Regions from separate parts of the Homo sapiens genome. Here region 1 is linked to region 2. Evidence: promoter capture Hi-C in 16 types of primary human blood cells and fetal thymus (Javierre and others, 2016). All regions are on one chromosome and are shown on one strand. Each heading gives the region's core, a stretch centred on a gene start or on the middle of the fragment in contact. The rest is flanking DNA. Distances are from core to core; before and after follow the strand shown. Region 1 has its middle 19 kb from the start of GABRR3. Region 2 holds the start of CRYBG3 (crystallin beta-gamma domain containing 3).

Region 1 (6,441 bases), core at 180-2,679, 230 kb after region 2:
AGGTCTAGTGGGGTGGATCACGAGGTCAAGAGATCGAGACCATCCTGGCCAACATGGTGAAACCCTGTCTCCACTAAAAATACAAAAAATTAGCCGGGCGTGGTAGTGGGCGCCTGTAGTCCCAGGTACTCGGGAAGCTGAGGCGGCGTCAACCCAGGAGGCGGAGCTTGCAGAGAGCCGAGATCGCACCACTGCACTCCAGCCTGGGCGACAGAGCAAGACTCCGTCTCAAAAAAAAAAAAAAAAATTAAAAGTAGATCTACCATTTGATCCAGCAATCCCACTGCTAGGTATCTACCCAGAGGAAAAGAAGCCATTATATGAAAAAGATACTTGCACACACATGTTTATAGTAGCACAATTTGCAGGTGCAAAAATGTGGAACCAGCCCAAATGCCCATCAATCAACAAGTGGATAAAGAAAATGTGAGATAGATAGATAGATATAACGGAATACTACTCAGCCATAAGAAAGAATGAAAGAATGGCATTTGCAGCAACCTGGATGGAATTGCAGACTAATATTCTAGGTGAAGTAACTCAGGAATGGAAAACCAAACATTGTATGGTCTCACTTATATGAGGGAGCTAAGCTATGAGGACACAAAGGCATAAGAACGATACATTGGACTTTGGGGACTCGGTGGAAAGTGTTGGTGGTGGCGAGGGATAAAAGACTACACCTCGGGTACAGGTTACAGGCTACACTGCTTGTGTGATGGGTGCACCAAAATCTCAGAAATCACCACTAAAGAACTTATTCATATAACCAAACACCAACTGTTCCCCAAAACCTTTGGAAATAAAAAAAATTAAAAATTAAAAATCCCAATCGTTCTATGTATTTTTACTGTTGTTTTTCACTAACTCTAAAACTTTTCCTTAAATTTTCCATTATTGTGCCTTAATTTTGAGTTAACAAAGCAGAAGCTTTGAGAAAACGAGTTTCAGGCCTGCACAGACTTGGGAAGTGAAGACTTTAGCTACAGTTATACAGAATTGGTGACTAGTTAATAGAAATAAAAATATGTCACGTTGTAACACCTACTGGCTGGCCTTGTCATTAAACCTTAAGAGTTGTAAATCTAATACTTATAAATGTTCCCTTGAATGGTTGTATACTTAGGCCTACTGTTTTATAAGTAGGTAGTTCCTGCTTTAGATCAACAAGGCAGGGATTTGAATATGTAAAACATATTTTATGTCCGGAATTATGCAAAGTTTGTCATTAAAGACATGTATTGATGATACAGACATATTTTTTCACCCTGTGTTTCCACAGGATCTCGTTTAGTTTCCTTTCCATTTACTTTCCAGGCTTGTAAAACTCATGGATACACTTTTAGCTTGAGGCTTTTTCTGCATTGCCTTACCTATGTTTATGTTAGTCATTGCCTATTAATTTGGTTAATCCTTTCTCCCCATTTAATTTGTTATTTAAATAAAATTTATAATTTACTATTTAACTTATCACTTAAATTGAATCCAGATATTCAAAACACTGGCCATTCTTTCTACTATGATGTTTTTGTAATGTTTTATTCCACCTTGACTGTGATAGTCCCGTTTGTAATACCAAGAGGATCAGATCATTTTTTGTTCTAGAAAGATAAAAAAGTTCCTGAAAGAATGAGAAAATACACTTTTGAACCCAAAACAAAGTCTCATTTTCTAAGATTTTGGCATAAAATATACCGTGTACCTTTTGCTCTTAAAACACTTCGTTGTTAATACATTCAATTTTAAGGTACTTATGAGTGGCAGGCTATGGGACTAGTTAGTTCTTGTCTAGAATCTCCTCTATAACCCTCAAGAAATAATATGTATTTTAAAAAAATCTTACCATTTTTTCAGTGTACAATATACAATTTCTTACATTGATCCATTTATTAACTCATTAGTGATTTTGTGGTTTTCACTGCTTTTATACAAGCTTTTGCTTTTATGATCATCATAGTTTCTTATACCCAAGTCCTCTTTGCCTTACTGAAAAAGAATTCTGAGAAGGGCAGAAGCAAAAGCTTCCTCATGTGCAGTGCCCACCTGCTCTCTGTCTCTTTGTTCTATAGCAGTGTCTTCTTCATGTATGGGTGCCCCAGGTCTGGCCCAGATTAACAGTGGAATGAAATGTATTTTCCGTTCTACATGATTATAATTCCTCTGCAGACTCCTTTATTTACAGTATGAAAAACAAAGAAGTTTTAGGTACACTTAGAACAATGATAAAGAAATATTTTTGGAGAACACTTTCATAATTCTTTCCATTTCCTTTCTGTTAAAACAAATCGTAATAATTGTTTCTGTGTTTTACACATAGTAGGGACACAATATGTTAAGTGAATGAATAAAAAAATTTAGACTAAATATTCTTGTCTTAGTTATAAGTTATTCTGATCATTAAAATAGTTAATGAGCATTTAAGGACAAACACCACATTTTTGTTGTTGTTTTAAGTACATACTCAAGGATGAAGTTCAAACTGAAATTATAATGCCACATTACTGTTTTTGTAACATGAATGAAACACAAGAGTTCATTCATTTTACAAAGACTTAGTAACAAGTTTTTGTAACATGAATGAACTACATGAAATACAGACATACATGTTTTAGAACTTACTTGCAGTTATTTAAAGGAAGACCCCACCTATATAATTTAAAAAGTGTTCAAAGTATTCATGCACTTCTAAATAATTCTTGAACAAGGCATTTTTCAAACTTTCTCTTTAGCAGATATTTATAATAATATATCAGAATGTTAATAAAAATAATACTGTTAGGCCAAATATGACAACACATATCCTCTTAAAACATTTAAAACTAAGATTTCCATTTGGTTTAAAAGCAATTTTGAAAAGTAACATGTTTCATTGCCTCCATTGAAAGATATGTAAATGTAACAACAAAAATACTAAAAGTAATTCAAATTTCTGCAATATAGTTAGAAAATTTCTGAGTTCTTCTAAAACTTTTACTTTTTAATTTATTGAGTAGTCCTACTGAGCACTGCATTCCTGACACACATATCCTACCTGAATAGTGTTTTCTGGCATTGACACCTGCCTGAACCAGCAGGTGTGCTTGATCAACTGTCAGTTAAATATATTAAGCTAATTTTTTTTCTTACCTACATTGTGTATATATTCTATCTGGCCCTTTCATGAGTAGGCAAACTTTGACCTCCTTACTTTTATTACTTAGACTCTTGAGAATACTCAAGAGAGTATTCTCTTGAGAAAATACTCAAGAAAGATTTTTCCATATGCATAATACATTGCTTTTACCCTGGCTTTAAAAAAAAGTGAAGAAATGGCAGTTTGTTGAATGATATAACCCAAAGCCCCAAATGAGGCACAGTGGCTTTAGGAATAGTTTGTTAGGGTTCAGTTTTTTCAGAACCCGGTTCCTCTCATTGCATCTGAGCTGTGCCTTCTGCTGTGGGGACTCCATTTTAAGCAGGTGTACCCTGTGGCTGCAGAATCTCTGCAGGAGTTCCTGTCTCCATCTCTCTATAGTCAACCCCAGCGACAAAGTGTTCTAATTTTATATGTAATATGCCATACAGGCTGATTAGTCTTGCCTACATAGTGGCCGTATGTCAATGTATAACCTTTCTCTCTCATCATTACACCTATATTATTTCAAGAAAAATCCCCACTGATTTGGGTTGAGACCTAGAGACCAGAGTACTACATTCTACATGCTTTCCTCAGCTAGATTCACATAGAGCAGGACTGACATCCTCACACTCCCCGAGAGGAAAACAGCCACAGGCAGCTATATAGTCAAAGGGGACAATAGTTTTGCAAATATTAAACAATGGAAATTAATTTCTTATTTTAACATTTTTTTTCATAGTTTCTGAGGTGGGAAAAATCTAGTACTTGACCTTTTAACAAGATAGCCTGAAGAGCAGACTTTTAAATTACTTATGTCTGAGTCCTGAATCATGTCCCTTAAAGAGGCAGTTCATTGGCTGAGCAGAAATCCCAAATCACAGAGCTGTACTAATTGGTTAGTTAATTAGGGCACTCCCAGGTGAGAAATGTTGAAGACTGGCAGACACTAACTTCCATTGTTCATCCAAGTCCGTTGGCACAATCTGTGGTTTGACTTTTAGAGGTGTTAGTGCAATTCTCTCACAATCTCCTAGCTCCACTTTAGAATGCCTGCACCTTAGTTACCTCAGTTTCTTTCATACAACCTTAATTACCTCTGAAGCATGAATTCCCCTTTGCCAGGTAACCTAACATATTCACAGGTTCTGGGAATTAAGATGTGTACATATGTGGCAGGAGCATTATTGCGTACATCAAAGGTAGACTTGGAAAAGAGTGTGTTTTGTCCAGATTCCAATTTATGGCACTAGAAATCATTTCTGGCTCTGCTCCTTCCTTACCTGGCTACCTCAAAGTAAACTTGGTTTGCAAAGTACGTAGGCAGCAGACCCTTGAAGGTTAAGCTTTAGAGGCTGGTCCCCATCACCATCTTGCATGGCCAGGACCTGCAAATTCCTGCAGCGACAGAAAGAAGCCAAGAGACTCACTCATGCAACAGGTGGGTTGGGACATGTAGGTGGAGGACATAAGAGAGACCCTGAGGGGTGACCACATCAATGAGACCCAAGAGAGTCAGAACAGCCTTGGAGGGCAGCTGGGACCCTACCCATACTAGTTGACCAGATCAATAGTTCCAATAGGCACTGACTTTGGCTGTAAAAGCTGGCACCATGCCAAGCCCAGAAGAGTCAGACAGTATTAGTAGGACAGAGACCTTCACTTTACTCCCAAAAGATCACAGGCCTTTCCCTGCTCCATATTCTCATATTCATCTCAGAGGTTTACATGAAAAAATTAAAATTAGTCAAGTTAATTTTCTGTCATTTAGAGCATGACAGCTCTTGCTATATCTATTCCATGAACTGCTTAACAAAATCATTGATTAGAATCACAGACTCCGGTCATCTCCAGGCTGAGGTCATGACCCATGAGAGAATGGATCGGAAGTAATAGGATACGGGACAATCGACTAACCCCTCTTCTTAAACTCTGGACTTTTGGAGAGTTGTTTTCACTGAGAAAAGCCCAAGTCCAATAGTGATAACTCAGTTCATAAGTGATGGCCTGGGACATGCTGTAGAGACTAGGTGTGGGAGGACATATTCAGAGTCCCTAGCTGAGTCAGAAATAGAACCTGCAGCTTGTCTCACAGGAGCCAAGGCCAACATGAGAGATCCTGGCAGATTGGGAAGGGACATCACATGAATCGTGCAAGAATCAGCTCATCCACCTATTTCCACACAAGCTAGGCAACTGAGGCAGAGATGGAACTACAACTTGAAAGTGAACATGAGCATATGAGAGAGGAGAAAGAGAAGAAAAGATTGAGGAGACAGCCTACACTTTCTGACACCATTACAAAGATAACTGCTCAGCCTCCAGTGGGTCCACCCTATGCTCATACCTACACAAGGGAGGCCCTGCTGACCATGTAGCTGGAATTCCTGGGACAGGGATGCATTATACTGTGGATGGAGGGAGCTTCCTAGTAGGAGAAAAGACTTTCATCCAGTAACCAATTTTACTTAGCCAAACTACAACAGAACATAGTAGAAAATTCAACTCAGGTCTTTCTAGAAGCAAGGTAAGCAAACTTAGCAAACTTGAGTCCATTCAAAAGACTCTTACCCTAAAAAAGAGTAAGAGTCTTTTGAATGGACTCATGTTTACTAAGGAGAGAAAGTAATGGGGAGGAAGAGAATGAAAAGTATTAATTTTCTTTTATCAGTTGCCTCTCTGAGTATAGAGCTGGTTCCATAGTTTGCATAAGGGTTCTATCTGTCTGGGAATATATTTTAAATTGTTGTAGAAGTAATGCAAAGAGAAAAAAAGGAATTCCTCTTCTGACTTCAAAAACAGGAATTTGTCTTGAAGGAATATTACATTATTTTACACAGATTTTTAGTATATTAAGAAATGAACTGGAAGTCTTAGAGATTAGAGTTCTATACTGTAAATATGGCTATGTCTGCTAGGCTAAGCCTGGTTTCTTCATCGCACAAGGAGAATACAAAGTAAGAGAAGTAAAAAATGAGCCCATATTTTCTCACTTAGTGGTGAGGGGAGAAGAGTAAGTGGATAGAGAGCAAAGGGAAGCAGTCAGGTAACTATATCCCAATTTTGTTGTTACAGGCTCCAATTTGGAGTTTCAGAGGTTTGTAGATAGTTTTAATAGAGCCTGAGGGAGGGAAGTCTTCTAGCCAGAGTCTTGTTTTAGAGTGTAGAAAGGAACCAGTCTTTCCTGCATAACACTGGGGCATGGCCTGCAGCATGGCTAGGCAGAGGGTGGCCTAGAAGTTTTCCTCCCTCTATGTGTTGTGATGGGACCAGGAGCCCCAGAGTATCACTGAGGGGAGCACTCAGGCTGTATGTGACCTTCTATT
Region 2 (6,092 bases), core at 2,691-5,190:
TCAGTAATAGCTTTTTGCTGCCCTGGGCCGCATGACACTGCCTCATTTGGCCACGCACAGCTATTATTCTAGGAGGCAGCTAGTGAAGTGCCCCAATCCATCTGCTTGCTTTTTCATGGGCTGGTGCTTTCCTTGATGTTGACAGCTGTCTTAATATTCCTGGGCCACCTGCCACACAGTAAATACTGTGCTCTAAGATATATACAGAAGCTTATTCCCTGGTGGACTTTTCAGAACAAAAACGCTTAGCATTACTAAACTACTCTTGCAGTTTAAATGCTTCAAGGATCAACACTTTCATTCTATTCTCATACCTTTGAGAATGGTACTTACGTTGTGGGAATGGCAATTCAGTTACAGTGTGATGAACTTCAGGATTTCTCATATATCACACAAGTTATTGAATTACAGTATTATAGGTGGAAATCAGGTGCTAAAAGGAGGCAGAGAAGAAGAGAGCATATTAACAGTTATCTCCTCTAGTGAGCCTTCCAGGAACCCTTCAGATTAAGTTGGGGATCCGTCCTATGTTTCCCATCTTACCCCATTTGCTCATCTTGCCCAATTAAACTTGCTCCTTGATGTTAAGCATTTGGTCTTATCTATCACCGTATCTCTATGTCTAAGAATGAGCATGTATCTGACACATAGTATGCACTAGAGGACATATCCAGGTTTTGTGGGATCTGAAGTTTTTACAATTTGGAGGGTCCTCTTTAAAGAAAAAGGATTTAAAAGAAAATTAGATATAAAAATGAATATATTGAATGAAAACATAAACCATGCAAATTACTAATTTTAAAAGGTTGACTAGAAAAACAATTTGTTTTCTTACTAAATGCCTTGCACAATCACTTTTTTTCCTATATTTTTGGCAGTGTACTCTTCAATAGCCTTTCATATGACAATAATTTAGTAATATTATTTTCCATAATAATGAAAAGATAATGCAATCTTTCCTCTAGTTCTGTTTTTCTTATTGATAGAAAGGCTGTGTAAACATGCAGTACTACACACACACACACAAAGCTTGTGGTACTGCTACAGGTTTGTACCCTACAAACAAGAATTCTGATAAATTCTATTTTACATGGTTTACATCAACAAGAAAAAATGTTTTGTGTTTACAGTTATAAAAATTATTTTGGGTGGCTGAGACGGGTGGATTACCTGAGGTCAGGAGTTCGAGACCAGCCTGACCAATATGGTCAAACCCCGTCTCTACTGAAAATACAAAAATTAGCTGGGCATGGTGGTGGGCGCCTGTAGTCCCAGCCACTCTGGAGGCTGAGACAGGAGAATTGCTTGAACCCAGGAGGCGGAGGTTTCAGTGAGTTGAAATTGCACCACTGCACCCCAGCCAAGGTGACAGCGCCAGACTCTGTCTCAAAAAAAAAATTAAATATACTGCATTATTGAATATATTATTGCTATGAGAGAAATTACATCAATCGGAGGCAATCCTTCCTGTTGAAACTTTGTCTTCTGATGCCTGGAATAATTTTCCACATGACACCTGATGCTGCTTTACCTTTCAAATCTTGTCTCACCTCTATTACCCACATATTTTCAGTGTCAGAGACCACAGAATATATCTCCTCTGGCTCTGCATCTTGGGTGTAATACTTGGTGAGCTGCGCTACAAACAAATTGGAATTTAAGAAATAACTATACTTTGGAGAGGCTGGAAACCACATAAATATATTCCACTAAGTCCAAACTAAATATATTCCCAACTGAAATTCCCTAGCAGATTCCCAAATGCTCTTGATAACTCTAAGTGGAAAAGAAAATCTAAGTGGACATCTAAGTGGAAAAAAAAAGAGATTGTGGTCTTAATCACATTAAAACATTTACTTTTGTAAATTTGATAAAACTGGCCATGGATCCCATTGCTGAGTTCACACTGGAAGAGACTGTGCCAGCAGGGAGCCAAGAAACTTGAGCCTCATCGGCTTCACTGTAGATGTGCTTCTACTGCAGGCACTCACTAAACGTCGGGGAATAACTGGATCAGTGAATTAATGACACTGTGCTAAATTAGTATCTCTAAGATCCTTACAGCTCTAAAATTTGACATTTTTACAGGCTTCCTAATGCAATCTTAGAATTTAGTATTTAGAAATTTGTTCATATGAGTTCAGGTTATAACAATGTAGGACATATAGAAAACTAATAAGTGCTCAGAAAGCAAATGAAGGAAAATTCAATGGTCATTGTTTTATGACTTTAAGCTATTTTGTCATAGACGCAATTTGTCTTAGTGTAAACATGGCATTATTTGTATTTACCATTCACTTAAGTGCTTTGCTGTGCTACCGAGTGGAGATCAGAGTATTGTTAGATATATTATTAGTTAAAACCATAATTCATTAATTAAATCCTATTGACTCCCCCCCATTTTTATTCCAAGAAAAACTTCCTGAACGAAGTACCCTCTGGGTAGGCACTGGGGCCTGGTTTGATCACAGAACAAGTCAGGGACAAATGTGATAGTCATTCAATAATACGTTGGGAAGACAAATTATCATTTGGGCCTTTTAGCTGGAAGAAACAGTTTGCTTTATTACTCTCTTTGGGCTTTTTGGTAAGTGGGTCTTCAGTGGAGATTCTCTTATAAAATAATAAAGCTAGAATTGGGAACTTGTCTTATTCTAGTCTATTATCTTAGTCTTTTTCTATTTTCTCAGACTAGGCTCACAGAGAAATAGGAAAAATTTACCAAAGAGTAAAAAAGGATTAATCTTGAGGGATAGACTGAGATGAACCCGATTGATGGAAATCGGGCTGACTGAACTTTAATGGGTTAAATCCTGCCAGAACAAATGAGAATGAGTGTCTTGGCTCTATTGCAGTTAGTAGGAGCTGGAGGGCTTCTGGGAGGCAGCGTGGGGAGGCAGGGAGGCTCAATAGCCTCCAGCAGGTGCTGAAAGGACTTGGGGCTTATAGGTATGCAATCTACTTATGAGCAACCTTCTCCTCCAGCACCCGAAAGCCAGAGGGGAGATTACTCCAAGGCTCCCCTCTGCTGTGGACATTTCATTTTTATCTCATTTACTTGTATACATTTTTTAATGAACAAAAGCCATATCACTTCCTTGACGTCTACTCCAGGGGCAGCTTGCCTTCAAACAAAAACAAAACACTTGGGGTGAATGGGCCTCTCAGTATCTCCTGTACTAGCTGCTATAGGGTATGAAAAACCAAGAAAAATCCATACCACTGTACTTAGACTTAAAACAAGTCTTAAGCACCCTTTGGTTCCCAGATTTCAGTGGCATCTGTGTAACGACTGCAAAATATGTTGCAGCATTGACAAGCTTGAAATCATACTTTTTGATCAGTGCCGTTTTTGAAAGAGTTCGCAGGGAAGTATGGCGTGTGAAAAGTCTGAAGCACAGCGCGGTTAGGAAAAGTCACACCACAGAAAGCCAGCAGAACGCGCCGGGAGGTGGTGACCGCCTGACAGGTACCCCCTTCTCCCTCCCGCCGCCCGGTTCTGTGCTAACGCGACTTTCGCCCTCAGGGTTGGAGCTGTATTTGCGGTAGCTGTTTCTTAGCTCCCAGCAAGTCCGGGGCGCCCCGGTACTGCAGTTTGCCAAGTGTTTTCACAAACCTTAGTTCATAAACCTCTTTCAAAAGCCCGAAGAAAACCGTTTCTGTGCTCTGACTGTAGAATAGAAAACACAACGGTCACAGAAAGTAATTGAAGGCAAAGCCCAACAGGCTGCAGCCTGAACTTGTTTGAGCCGTAAGCCCGAGCCTAGCGTCGCACGCTGGGCGACTCCCCTCAGGCTCTCAGGCCGGCGCCTTCGGGGGACCACGTAGCGCCCCAGCGGTGGCGGCTGCGCCCGGCTCAGGGCGGTGCCGCGGCCACTGGCTCCTCCTCGGGGTGGGGCGGGCCGCGCCGGGCGAGGGCGGGAGGAGGAGCAGCCGCAGCGGCGTGAGGAGCTGCCGCGCGAGGAGCGCGTCGCGTCCGCACTTCTCCTGCCCGAGAGAGACTGAGCCGCGCTGGCAGCTCGCGTCGAGTCGGTCTGCCCTAGCCGCATCCCGCGGCGCCCGGTCGGGCTCCGGGCACCAGGCAACACCTAGGCCGTTCCCTTCAGACAGCCCCGGGCCAGCGGCCCCCTCGGGAAATGTCCAGCGGCCGCAGAAGGGGCAGCGCCCCCTGGCACAGCTTCTCCCGGTTCTTCGCTCCCCGAAGTCCTTCCCGGGACAAGGAAGAGGAAGAGGAGGAGAGGCCGGGGACGAGCCCGCCTCCAGCTCCAGGCCGGTCCGCTGCCAGGTGGGAGTCGAGGAGGGGGTCGCGGGGGGGCCCTGCACATATTCGCGGGATGAAGGCTCCCGGCCTGACCGCCGGCAGCGGGCCGCTCTTGGGCCAGGCTGCAGTTCGCTCGCCACTTTCTGTTCTCCTTCCTCCATTGCTAAAGTTTCCTCCTCCTTGCCCCGTTCCCGTGCCGCACTACTCGCCTCTCCTCTGCAGGTTAAATCGGGGTGAAGTTCTTGCCCGGCAGCCGGACGCATATCCCCCGATCCCCGCCTGGCTCCGCGCTCTTCCTTTCCCACTTTCCCCTGCCCGGACGTGATTGGGTTCCCGTTCCACACACGCTCTACTCTCCAAGTTCTGTGGCAAAAGCGATTTCCCCGGCGTCCCGCCTGCAGTAATGGGAAACACTTGTGAGCCGAGCGGAGCCGTCGGCCAGGGGAATTGGGGGCGCGATCCCAGCACCACTTGTGTGGGAGGAGATCGGGGCAAAAGTGGAAAAGGTAAAGCTTTGGGGCGTCACCCCCTCAGCTGGTATTTTTGCCATCTTATTTAAATTTTCTCAAAATGATTTTTAAAAGGAATTGTGATAATGCGTTCCCAAGACTTTCACCAAAATGGACTGGACATGTAAATGACGCCACCCTTCTTTATTTCTCATCTCTCCTAGAAACATCTGCCTCAAGTTCCCAAACAGATTCTGGAAATCAGGTTTCCAGCTGTCTTGGTTTCAGTAATCAAAATGTACCCTTTCTCTGTAATATTTTTATCTTTCCTTCACTTTCCCATGTTCAAAAATCAAAAAATTTTAGACATGCCTCATTTAAATGCCTGTTTCTGAGTCTTTTCATCCCCCCGAAGAAAGAGGGGTTAAGTAAAACGCAGCTCGCTTTCTTAAACTTATGAGAGGCTTACACTGTCTTCTCCCGAGATTGCACTAGAATGACCATTGTCATTGGAAGGACACACTCCAGAAAACCGTGTTTACTTCGGACTCAAGATTTCCTGGTGGGCTTAAAAAAAATGGATAGGAAACAGAACTGAGAGTGAGCCAATTCCATTAGTATTCAGATTTTGTGATGTGATTTTAGTCGTTTGTGTGTTCCTCGGTTTCCCCGCTTGTGAAACATTTTCATTATGACCGTCTGTTAATAACATGCCACATGTTTCCAAGAAAGCTCCTACGATAATTGAGTGGTTATTCTCCTGGGACGTTTCAGCTATTATTGCTCTGACTGTTGAGAGTTTAAAATTCAAAGTTACACAGAAGTTAAAAATAGTTTTTAAGTCTGACAGATCTCATCCAGGGTGTCAGCTAGTTCTGTTGGTGTGGGCAGACAGCCTGTGGTGCCTGCCACCGCCGTAACAGCACTAACAGTCTTGGATAATATGAACGCAGTCTGCAAGGAAATCCCAAGTAGGCGCAGCAAAAGTTGGGAACTTGAGAGTCAGTGTTAGAAAGGAGTAAGCAGGTCAAATTCAGGCTCATGTCAGTAATGGCCTGAAATCCTGCTTGCCTCTCTGCCCTATTTTGGCTTTTTAAGGCACTTCTCAATTCTAATTTCTTTACTGACTGGAGCTGACCCCTCCAGCAACTAGTTCCTTGTTCACCTACCACTTCTCTATTCTCATCATCTCCAGATTGGCACAAATTATGGCTTTTCAACGATGAAGATTTTAATTGTGCTTATATCAACGCTAATTTTGTTCTCATCTTTTTTGGAACTTGCCAGATGTTAGGGGGATAGCAGATGACCCTTTATGTGGGTGTTTTACTGTTTTAAATGAGCTTAAATCTTTCATTTCAAGGGCATAAACAAACACAAAG

The links. The method cuts DNA at HindIII sites, captures the fragments that hold promoters and counts their contacts. A CHiCAGO score of 5 or more calls a contact.
Region 1: a fragment that was not itself captured here is called in contact with the fragment with the promoter of CRYBG3 in region 2 in 2 of 17 cell types (non-activated CD4 T cells and naive CD4 T cells); the score reaches 5.4 in non-activated CD4 T cells.

What each region holds. Positions count from the first base shown.
Region 1 is chr3:98,051,510-98,057,950 of GRCh38, forward strand. It overlaps the pseudogene OR5BM1P. Among named protein-coding and RNA genes, the nearest start is that of GABRR3, 19 kb to the left of the region's middle. The HindIII fragment of the contact is 1,003 bases long and covers 929-1,931 here.
Region 2 is chr3:97,818,071-97,824,162 of GRCh38, forward strand. It overlaps CRYBG3 (crystallin beta-gamma domain containing 3), which reads left to right and starts at 3,941. Exons shown (of 22, transcript NM_153605.4): 1 at 3,941-4,285. The coding sequence starts at 4,137. LOC101929298 (a long non-coding RNA gene) reads right to left here and starts at 3,706. Exons shown (of 3, transcript XR_427389.3): 1 at 3,617-3,706; 2 at 334-433. RefSeq lists a silencer at 3,718-4,087. The HindIII fragment of the contact is 1,453 bases long and covers 3,319-4,771 here.